Linked DNA regions of Homo sapiens: region 1 is linked to region 2. The links are contacts of gene promoters, found by promoter capture Hi-C in human tissues and cell types (Jung and others, 2019). All regions are on one chromosome and are shown on one strand. Each heading gives the region's core, a stretch centred on a gene start or on the middle of the fragment in contact. The rest is flanking DNA. Distances are from core to core; before and after follow the strand shown. Region 1 holds the start of GPATCH8 (G-patch domain containing 8). Region 2 holds the start of MPP2 (MAGUK p55 scaffold protein 2).

Region 1 (5,849 bases), core at 462-2,961, 600 kb after region 2:
ATCCTGTTTGCTAAGCCTGCTGGAATTCTGTGGTTGACAGTCATCTTCCCTCAAAACTTAACTGTCCATATTATCTATTTTCGATTTTATTAGGTCACCTTGAGATTATTCTCTCCTCTGAAAAGCATTTGCGGGCTTTAGTTATCAGTATGTCTCTACCGGTAATTTAAAAATCAATAAAGCTCATACACCTTGCAGCCAACTCATATTTTATAGTGCTTGCTAATATATATATATGTGTGTATATATATATATTTCTCAGGGATCAAAAGGCTAACATGAACTGCTTCAAACTTTGGTGAATCTGCATTATATCCTTAGAACATCCTGAGACTCTCCTGTATTGTGCTGCAGCTATACAGCAGGCGCATGATCACAAGGCTTTTTAACAGCCCCCAGATCCCTTACTGCTGCAAAACTTCTCATAAGCGTTCTATGTACTAGACTGTTAACAGTGCTGAGTTAAAATTGTTAAACTGCTTTACCTATTTATTTACCAATCCTATCATCTCAGGGAATTCAAACTCTTTAAACTGCCTTCTGAAACACATCTAGAGTGCTTTCGTACTGCTTTGAGTAGGATCTGCAGCGGGATAAAAACTTGAGTTCTGAGATTCATCCCGACCCAAATTGCAGTTGCCAGGATATGCGGTAGTAATGCAGTGTTTTTTTTTTTTTTTTGAGACTCTACGGATGTATTTTACCTAGAAATAGCCAATCTCTACTAAATCCCTTTTAGTCTTCGAGATTTCCGCGGTAACAATTTCAACAGAAAGGTATTTTCAACAGCGAAAAAACAAGTTATTCTAATTTGGCCTTTATTTTTTACTCAATAGAGCTTGCCATCGTAAGGGCATTTTTCCATACTAACATTTGCAATTGAAGAAAGAAAAATCAAGCTTTTGGCACTAGTGACCCCATGCGTGGACGGCCTATTATCATCACGCTTCTCACAAATCTTTCGAGATAGGATTTGAGGTTAGGCTCACATCGGATCATAGTCCAGTAACTTACTGCTTTCCAAGCCCAATTAACAGCCTAATAACAGCAACACTTATGCCCCGCGAAATCTCAATGTATGACTAACCAATAAGGCGTCTGATAGCGAAGGCAACCTTTTCCCAGGTAAGGAAGAGGAAAAGCAGACAATGAAAGGAATTGATTTATCACAGTGAAGAAAGAAAAGAGAAGGACCCCAAAAGGATCCGTGAGAGCAAAATCCCGGGGTTCGGAAGCCTTGGCCTCAGCAATACTCTCCCCCAAGCCCTCTCAGCCCAACCCAACCACCCCTCTTGTCCCCTGGGAGCCAGCCCTTCGCCGGCACAGATCGGGCAGACCTGGAGGGCACAGCCCCTCACACGGCGCTCAGGCCCGGTTCCGAAATCCGATGCCAAACAGGCGGAAGCCGCAAGCCCCGCGGCCTGAGTTTCAGGGGTAAGAGAATGCGGGTGCGAGGAGATGCGGCCTCCCTCAAGCCGGGAGGCCTCTTGAGAAAGCAGAGACGGGAGAAGAGCGAGCTGGTTCGCAAGTCGGAGCAAAACTGGAAGGAAAGAGGGCTGGGAGCCGGAGATGAAGGAGGTTCTGGGCTAGACCAGCGCCTTCCCCGCATCCTCGGCGACGCCCGTGTTTACCTGAAAGTCTCGGTCTTCGTTGAAGCGGGAGAAGCGGTCCGCCATTTTGCCGCCTTCACTCCTCTCAGGACGACGCTCTCCGGTTCGCTCCTTCCCTCCTGCGACACCCACCCCTCCCCGGTTCCCCGCCTCCTCCCACGCCCACCGGGCGCGCGCAGCCGAGGGAGGGAGCGAGAATGCGCGTCCTGACGGGAGCCCCGCGGCGCAGGCGCCTGCCAGCCCTGGAGGCTGACCCTTCCCTCTAGCCCCTGCTCCGCGCGCGACCCGGAGCGACCCCGGTGGCCGCGCGTGCGCACTCCCGCCCGAGAGCCGCGAGAGCTTCCGGAGGGAAAGGTCAGAGGGGGCACCGTGCGGACAAATCTGGATGTTTTGCTGTTGCTCACTTCCGGGTGTCTTTTCTCACTGTTGCTTCCCCGTGTGCGCAGAAGTCCATCGTCTTCACTAAATAGCAGCATAATGTTGGGCCGAAAGCGCGACCTTAGAGCCAGACTGCTTAGCTTCGAATCTCAGCTCACCCTGAGGATTCAACGGTGAACGAGACAGGAATGATCTCCTCTTATGGGGATTTCATTCCAGTGGAAGAACTCACATAACTCGTAAAATAAATATTTTTAAATATCAACAAGTGCCACAAAAAAGTAAAACTGGCCACAGTGCTGAGAGGGACAGTCTCTGAAAGGACCTTTGACCGAGGCACAGCGAGGAGCCTACAGCATTGGGGCATAGGGAACGTTAGACCCAAAGGCCCAAAGACTGCAAGGAGCTTGACTTCGAGCCATCCTTTGAGAGAAGTATTTCACAAGGGACCGAAGTTGATCCAGATCGACTAAAGCTCTCTGGGCTTCAGTTTCCTTTTTATACAATAGGGAAATTGGATTCAGTAATCTCTGATGCTCCTGCCTAGCGCTGACTATGAGAGTCAAGAATCGGATTTTTCCATCCCTTCTGAGGACCTCACCCAGTGCTCCAGGACTCTTAGCCAAAATACATAAAACACATAGAAGGGTGGCAGGACTTCTCTCCTTTTGAAAAGAGTAGTTGACAGAAATCACACAATGGAAAAATGGGTCTTACCCTGCCCTGAAAGAGTCAAATGGAATGTAATTTTTTGAGGAAGGGTGTGTATTTTCTAGCTGTTACCCTTTGCCCCACCCATGCTTCAGCCTACGCTTCCATCTAAGGGGAGGCAGGGCACACAGAATTCAAACATTGTATTCTTTTTTTTTTTTTTTTTTTGAGACGGAGTCTCGCACTGTCGCCGGAGTACAGTGGCGCAATCTCGGCTCACTGCAACCTCCGCCTCCCAGGTTCAAGAGATTCTCCTGCCTCAGCCACCCTAGTAGCTGGGATTACAGGCGCCCACCACTAAGCCCAGCTCATTTGTTTTTTTTTTTTTTTGAAAAGGAGTCTCACTCTGTCGCCCAGGCTGGAGTGCAGTGGCGCGATCTCGGCTCACTGCAAGCTCCGCCTTCCGGGTTCACGCCATTCTCCTGCCTCAGCCTCCCGAGTAGCTGGGACTACAGGCGCCCGCCACCAAGCCCGGCTAATTTTTTGTATTTTTAGTAGAGACGGGGTTTCACCGTGTTAGCCAGGCTGGTCTCGATCTCCTGACCTCGTGATCCGCCTGCCTCGGCCTCCCAAAATGCTGGAATTACAGGCGTGAGCCACCTCGCCCGGACTTTTTTTTTTTTTTTTTTTTTTGTATTTTTAGTGGAGGCGGGGTTCACCATGTTGGCAAGGCTGGTCTGGAACTCCTGACCTTGTGATCCGCCCGCCTCAGCCTCCCAAAGTGCTGAGATTACAGGCGTGAGCCACCGAGCCTGGCTCAAACATTGTAAAGAGACTTAAGGGTAGCGTGAAAGATTGAATCACGAGGATACACATCACACTGACCTCTTCTTCCTCTCAAAAGCCCACTGAAATGACAGCAGAGGAATAAGAAGTGCATAAATTCACATGGACAAAGAGACCTGGAGAAGAGACAATGGCAGACAACAGATGTCAACATTTTGGAGGCCAGAGAGCACAGATAAATGGAAATGACTTTAGTAGAGTGGAGAAAAAGAAGTCATAGAGTAGGAGAAGACAGGAAAGAAGTTGATCAATGCTAAAGTGCACCAGAAAGGCTCAGGAAGTAGAAGCCCCTGGTGCCACTGATGATTCGATGTCTCTTTTCCCACCCAGGTAGCAAACTAGAGGTTTTCCCTCTGGAAAGGCTGAACCAGAGAGACTGGACTTTATAGGTGAGAAGGAGCAACCATGCTGAAAATGGGAGGATATGGTAAAGCCTCCATTCTGGCCAGAGAGTCTGACTTCTCCAACAAAAGAACATAGGAACCCTCTCTAGAAAATTGACTAGCTTAGGGAAGAAAATGCTTCATGTACCAACAATGGGAGTGAGGGTAGGGAGGTGTCTTCCTACATAAAGATCATGTTCCTGCCCAAATACTCCACAGAGAAGTCCATCATTCAGGAAGCCCCATCCACACAGACCTTTCACTCAGCTTTTTAGTGCCTTGTTATGAATGGATAGCCAAAGAATGCCAGACATTTGAAGGGAACCTGTAACAGGAAAGATAGAAACACCCCCAGCCTGGGCATTGTAGTAAGACCCCAACTCTGCAAAAGAACTTTAAAACTAGGCGTGGTGGCATGCACCTGTGGTCCCAGCTACTTGGGAGGCTGAGGCAAGAGGATTGCTGAAGCCCAGGATTTGGAGGCTGCAGTGAGCTATGATGACAGCAACAGCCCCCCTCCCCCAAAAAACGAATTCAGAGGAACCAGAGATAATGAAAGGAACAGAAGAAACCATCAAAAGAATTATCAACATCCACGGAGACATTATATCACATCAGGGTACAAGGGAACACATCAGGAAATAAGAGACTGCATCAAGGGGCATGGGATGCCAAAAAAGAAAAAAGGATATTGAGTTTAAGAAAGAACTTTTGGCCGGCGCGGTGGCTCATGCCTATAGTCCCAGCACTTTGGGAGGCTGAGGCTGAAGCAGGCGGATTGCCTGAGGTCAGGAGTTCGAGACCAGTCTGGCCAACATGGTGAAACCCCGTCTCTACTAAAAATACAAAAAAATTAGCCGGGCGTGGTGGTGTGCACCTGTAATCCCAGCTACTCGGGAGGCTGAGGCAGGGGAATTGGGCGACAGAGCAAGACTCCATCTCAAAAAAAAAGAAATTTTGGGGCTGGGTGTGGTGGCTCATGCCTATAATACCACCACTTTAGGAGGCCAAGGCAGGTGGATCACTTGAGGTCAGGAGTTGGAGACCAGCCTGGCCAACATGGTGAAACTCCGTCTCTACTAAAAATACAAAAATTAGCCAGGCGTGGTGGTGAGTACCTGTAATCCCAGCTACTCAGGAGGCTGAGGCAGGAGAATCGCTTGATCCCAGGAGGTGGAGGTTGCAGTGAGCTGAGGCCACGCCACTGCACTCCAGCCTGGGTGACAAGAGCGACACTCCATCTGAAAAAAAAAAAAAATTAGCCGGCCAGGGTGGCGCATGTCTGTAATCCCAGCTACTCAGGAAATCACCCAGAAAACAGACTAAAAAGACGCCCTGGTCTAAACCACCTTTACTTTCTCCTGAATTATTGCAGTAGCTACTACGTGTTCTGCTTCTACCCTGGCAGCATACATGTTACAAAGGAGCTCTGGTGATCTGTTAAAGGTCAATCAGATCACATATGTTGTCCCCTGATTCAACGCACAGTGACTTTCCACGTCACTCACAATATAAAGTTCACCTCTTACCACCCCACCTCTCACCGCCCCACCTCTCAGACCTCATCTTCCTCTCTCCACCCCTGTTTCCCTTCTCTCTGGACATACGGGCCTCTTGGCTGTACCTTGATCCCATCAGGCCTGTTCTTGCCTCAGCCTGCCTCACCCATGGGCTTATGTATTCGCTGTTCTTTCTGCTTATCATTCTTATATATCTCCTTGGCTTGGCCCTTCATCTTCTAGTCTTTATTCAAAAAGTACTTTTTTTTTTTTTGAGATGGAGTCTTACTCTGTTGCCCAGGCTGGAGTACAGTGGTGCAATCTCGGCTCACTGCAACCTCCGCCTCCTCAGTTCAAGCAATTCTCTGCCTCAGCCTCCCGAATAGCTAAGATTACAGGTGCCCACCACCATGACCAGCTAACTTTTGTATTTTTAGTAGAGACAGGTTTTCACCATGTTGACCAGGCTGGTCTTGAACTCC
Region 2 (5,727 bases), core at 192-2,691:
GGCTGGCGCTGCTCTCCCTCACAGGGTCAGAGAAGGGACTCCAGAAGTCCTCCTTCCCTAGAGCGTGGAGGGCGGGAAAAGGCAGGGAGGATCCTGTATGAAATCCCTGCGCTCGGAAGTCTTGCCCAGCCTGCCTGGGTTTTCTCCCGGGGAATCGGTTCCCAGAGCATCGGCTGGCTTTGCTCCCCCACGCCCGTCCAAGCCTCTGAGAGGGCGGGGCCTGGCTGTGTCCACAGGAGAACGGCAGTGCCAGGCAAGCTAGCCTGGCTCCGTGCCAAGGTCCTGCACCCAGACATCTGGGAACCTGCACCTCGGCTTCCAAAAGCCTGGGCCCAGATGCCCTCTCAGCTCTGCCTCCGAGATATCCACATCACCCATAGTGTCCGCAGGCGAGCGGACCAGCAGTGAAAGGGAGAGGTTTCTTCCAACCTCCCACCCATCCCTCCATCCATACACATACAAAGAGGTGCGGAGAAGAAAGGTCTGACAAAGGCGCTTTGGAGAGCGAGAGGTCGCGGGGAGGTCTGGACAGAACTGAGGGCCAGAGGATGGGGTCGAAAGGCCAGGCGGACGTGCATGCTTGGACCATCAGATCACCCCTGCCCCAACGGACCCAGCCCTAACACCCTGGGCGCTAGGACCTGGGGGAGGGGGGCGTGTTGTGAGCCATCAAAGAAGGCTCTCTACGTGCGCGCCCGCCGGAGACCAGGGATGAGGTCACTAAATGACTGCCCCGGCCAACCCCCACCCCGTCTTTATCCGCACCGCCCCCCCCTTAATTGACCTAACTTTCTAACCCTAGCTCTTCGCTTCTGGCACCGGTCCCCTCCCAAGTCTCCAGACCCTAACCCTGGCTCCCGACCCGCCCCGCTACAGCTTGGGAAGCGGGAGAAGCAGCGCGCGCCCTTCTGCGGACCCCCTCCCAGGGAAGATTGTGGTGTTAGCTGCCTAGGGGGACCAGGGGGCCACCGGGACCCAGCGCAACCTCTGTCTCGCTCCCCAACCCCCGGAAGCGCTAACAGCACGGTTCTTACGTAATGCCGGGCTTCTAAGTACCCCCAACCCGCACAGCCCCCGGGGAGGCCGCGCAGATACCGGGGCCCCTCACAGCTCACCACCTTGGTGCCTGAAGCCACTTTGGAGCCCCTACCGCAGGGGCGGGGACCAGTGTCAATGGGCAGCGGGGCTTGGTTCTCCCAACCAGCACCCCAGAAAGAGGGCCCAGGGGCGGGGGCGGGTGGACAGGGAGGGAACGGGCCTGGGTGAAAGGGGCCTGTGGAGTTTAAACCCAGTGAATAGGGTCCTAAGTGCCGTGTCAGGACGAAAAGAAGGCGGAGGTCTTGGGATAGGAGCTGGCCCGGGGGCCGGGGGACGCCTACCTGCGCCCCGGGAAGCCCCTAGCTCCGGGCGGCTCCAGCGCAGCCGGGCGCTCAGCGTTTATTGCTTGTCAATCGCTAGCCCGGCTCTTAAAGCGGCAAGGCCTCTCCGCGAGGGGGCGGAGGTCCGGAGGAGAGGGGAGGTGAGGAGAACGCGGAGGCCGGCACAACTCGGAGGAAGTAGTCTTTCCCAGCAGCTGGTACGGGGGCAGCCAGGTAGTGGTTTGGGAGACACCGCACAGACCACGACGCCCTGCTGGAGTCCCACTGGGAAGGGTTAGGGAGGCAGGACTGGTACCAGTACCCGCTGGTGCCCCTCGGCTCCCAAGGATCCCTTAAAGGGGCGATGGTAAAAGTGCCTAATGAGACCGGCTTGATTACTCCGCCCACCCATCTTGGCTTAGACCGGCGTTCTAGTTCCAGGCGTGCCTCACTTTTCCTCGTTATCCTGCTTCCATATTGAGAAAAAGAATAGGAGGACTTCAGAGAGACTCCCAGGAAGCAGGATACCAGCCCCAGAAGGCCTCGGGATCAGGGGCAGCTTTTTAAGGACTCAGAGGGTGGATATCCGGATTCCAGACTTTCCAGAAATTTTGCAAAAAAGAGGAAATGTCTTCCTGAAAGGATTCGAGAGCCTCTTTTAGGTCTAGGTGAGGGAGGCCTGGTCCATTTTCCTGCCTATGGAATAAAGAAGTAACTGGCTAGCCTTCCTCAGAGTCCCAGCCCAAAAAGTAAATAAAGGGTTAAACCCACTGGCCCGCCTTCGCCCAGCCTCCGGCTCCACCCCACATCTGCTAGTAAAAGATGCTGGGCCTCCAAATACGGGAGGCTCTGTGCAGTGCGACTAGCATTTGGGGCCAGCTACGCTACTTCTCCGACCTCGGCGTTCAGCCACCCCGTCCAGTTGCCCTGAACAAAATGTGAGAGTCATCCCTTTTCCTTGCTAACTGGATTCCTAAGATCATAAATGGACTGCATCTTTGGCCGGGCGCGGTGGCTCACTCCCATAATCCCAACACTTTGGGAGTCGGAGGCGGGAGCATCGGTTGAGCCTAGGAGTTCGAGACTAGCCCAAGCAACATAGTGAAACCCCATCGCTACAAAAAATAAAATAAACAAAATTAGCTGGGCGTGGTAGCGCGCGCCTGTAGTCCCAGCTACTTGGGAAGCTGAGGCTGCAGTGAGCCGAGATTGCAACACCGCACTCCAGCCTGGGCAACAGAGTGAGACCCTGTCTCAAAAGAAACAAAAAGAAAAGAAATGGATTACATTCTGGAAACTTGCTTGGAAATCTCAGAAATGGGAATCTATCCCGAAAGCAGGGGACTGGTCCCTGGGTTCCAAGACTCAGCTCTCCCCTGAGTTCCAAGGGTATAAGTTTGGATATAGGAAAAAGCCACAGAGGCGGCCGAACTGCTGAAAACCACATTGTTTAGGTGACCCAGGCTTTTACTGAGAGAAGAAAGCCATCGAACCCAGATAGCTTTGACAGGAATTGCAGGCTTTGGTCTCTAAACAAAGAGGGTTCTTGGAGCGCATTGCTTGCAGCTCTTTCCTCTATCTGCAAGCTAGAAAATCCTTCTTCTTCTTCTTCTTTTTTATTTTTATTTTTTGAGACGGAGTTTCGCTCTTGTTGCCCAGGCTGGGGTGCAATGGCATGATCTCGGCTCGTCGCAACCTCTGCCTCCCGGGTTCAAGCAATTCTCCTGCCTCAGCTTCCCGAGTAGCTGGGATTACAGGTATGCGCCACCATGCCTGGCTAATTTTGTATTTTTAGTAGAGACAGGGTTTCTCCATGTTGGTCAGGCTGGTCTCGAACTCCTGACCTCAGGTGATCTGCCCACCTCAGCCTCCCAAAGTGCTGGGATTGCAGGCATGAGCCACTGCACCCGGCCTAGAAAATCCTTATAATTGAATTCAGGAAGAGTTCCCCTTTCCATTATAAAGGCTACCCTCCACTGTCACCTGTCCACCTCTGGGCTGGAAATCACTCAGCTATTTGTATTTTGGAAGAGGAAGGATCTTGAATCTCTACAAGATATTAATTACTTCTTAATCAAGCAATTATTACCTCCATAGCGACCCACATCAAATCTTCCATTCCATTTAGGATCCTCAGGACAGTCTGGGATCTCAGATTCTGGCCCACCTGGGGAGGTGGAGCCCAACTCATTATTCTTAGCGGCTGCCCCACTGCATTCGTCGGTCAACAAGTATCTCTCTAATAAAGGCCTTGCAGAATGCCAGCCTCTCACATCTGTTCAGGACCTTACAATTGACAAATTGTTTCATTCTCACAACAGCCTTGTGCAGTTACAGAATGAGAAGAAACATTTATTGATGCAGAATAGGATGCTCCTCTTCTGTGCCAGGCAAGGTACCACTTACTGTGATACTGAGATAAGGGCCCTAACCTCCTAGAGTTCACAGTCTGGGGTTGAAGTCGGAAAGGAGTGTGTTACATAGATACAAAAAGCGCTTCTTGGTAGCACAGCTGAATGCCATAATAAAGGTGCAGTGTGTCCTAAGCTGTTCCCCAAAGGAATAGAGCTGCTAATGGTTGGCAATGGAGTAGCTGGGAAGGGAAGCAGGTTTGAAGGTCGGCAATGCATCCCCTAGTAGTTAAGGGCTGCCCCCTACCTCAAGAGGGGAATGAGTCCTCCTTCTCTGAGGTTTGTAATTAGCTCTGCCTTCCTCCCTGCCTCAGCCTCAGAGGTCATAAAGGTGCAGGTAGTATATCTCCTTCCCCCAAAATCAAGGTATTCCTATGGTGGTGTTCAGCCCAGAGTTTTGGGAGTCAAGGCACAGAGAAAAATAAAACTCAAAAGTGTTACAAATTTCCAGCAGGTAAGGCTTTGCACTGAGTGATGGTGCACTTCCTATAATGACCAGCAGGGGCCACCAACAGCTATTCCCAGTTTATCTACACCCAGCCTCTGAGGTGCTTCGCCTCCACACCTGCGACTGGCCAGTGCCTAGTTCTGGAAACCTTATTTATGGACTATACTTAAAAAAAAAAAAAAAAAAAAAAAAAAAAACTTGGGCGAGGTGCCATGGCTCACACCTGTAATCCCAACACTTTGGAAGGCCGAGGTGGGCAGATCATGTGAGGTCGGGAGTTCAAGACCAGCCTGGCCAATATGATGAAACCCTGTCTCTACTAAAAATACAAAAATTAGCTGGGAGTGGTTCCGGGCGCCTGTAATCCCAGCTACTTGGGAGGCTGAGGCAGGAGAATCGCTTGAAGCCGGGAGGCAGAGGTTGCAGTGAGCCATGATTGCGCCACTGCACTCCAGCCTGGGCGACAGAGTGAGACTCCGTATTTAAAAAAAAAAAAATTAGAGCCTTCAATGGACTATATAAAATTATATAAATATTTGCCTATAAACTATATTTGTGTTATTCAACTAATTAGTATGCATATTAGAAATCACACACATAGGGATGAATTTTTATTTTCATTTTATTTATAAATAAATAAACATATTTTGAGACAGGGTCTTACTCTGTTGCCCAGGCTGGAATGCAGTAGCATGATCATAGCTCACTGCAGGCTGGACCTCCCAGGCTCAAGCCATCCTCCTGCCTCAGCCTCCAGAGTAGCTGGGACCACAGCTGCATGCCACCACACCTGGAGAATTTTTTTTTTAATTTTTTGTAGAGATAGAGTCTTGCCATGTTGCCCAGGCTGGCCTTAAACTCCTGGGCTCAAGTGATCCACTTGCCTCAGCCTCCTAACGTGCTGAGATTACAGGTGTGAGTCACTGCACCAGGCCAGGATTAATTTTTTAACTATAAATAGAAATTCCAATTTTGTCTTCCCATACCCAAAAGGATCATCTTGCACACCCCTAGGTGCACACCCACTTTGGAAACCACTGTTCTAAAGGAAAAGCTATGCCGTCCTCCCTAGTCCCCGCCTCAACAGGGCATCCAGACAGGAATGGATCCAGACAGCTTTGCCTTCCCACCAGGACTAAACCAAGGCCTCCGTGAAGGACCAAGTTTCCTGGCCTCTTGCTCATCCCACAACCTCAAGACAGAAATTGAAGCCTCCTCCGCCACTACCACTACCATTACCACCAGCCTGGCCTGCGTTCATGTCAGATTGCCTTTCTAGAGGGCAGAGCCCCAAAACCTCTCTTGTAAGCAGCATCTGTTCCTCCACCTGGCCCAACAATTGCACTTTCCCTTGCCTCCTGATTTTAGTCTGCCCACCTCCCTATTGGGGTGGGAAGTTCTGGAACCAGACAATTTTGTGTTGAAATCCTGGCTCAGCCACTTCATGTGTGTGTCTTAGGCCAGTTAAATAACCTTGCCAAGCCTCAATTTCCTCATCTGTACAATAGGG

What was found. The method cuts DNA at HindIII sites, captures the fragments that hold promoters and counts their contacts. A contact is called where the count stands out against the background at its distance.
Region 1: a contact is called between the fragment with the promoter of GPATCH8 here and the fragment with the promoter of MPP2 in region 2, in 1 of the 25 tissues and cell types used here (heart right ventricle).

Annotation. Positions count from the first base shown.
Region 1 is chr17:44,501,695-44,507,543 of GRCh38, forward strand. GPATCH8 (G-patch domain containing 8) reads right to left here and starts at 1,712. Exons shown (of 8, transcript NM_001002909.4): 1 at 1,632-1,712. The coding sequence starts at 1,676. RefSeq lists an enhancer at 1,446-1,545 and a silencer at 1,646-1,995. The HindIII fragment of the contact is 22,919 bases long and covers 1-5,849 here.
Region 2 is chr17:43,906,095-43,911,821 of GRCh38, forward strand. MPP2 (MAGUK p55 scaffold protein 2) reads right to left here and starts at 1,442. Exons shown (of 13, transcript NM_005374.5): 1 at 1,380-1,442. RefSeq lists an enhancer at 1,452-1,601. The HindIII fragment of the contact is 11,562 bases long and covers 1-5,727 here.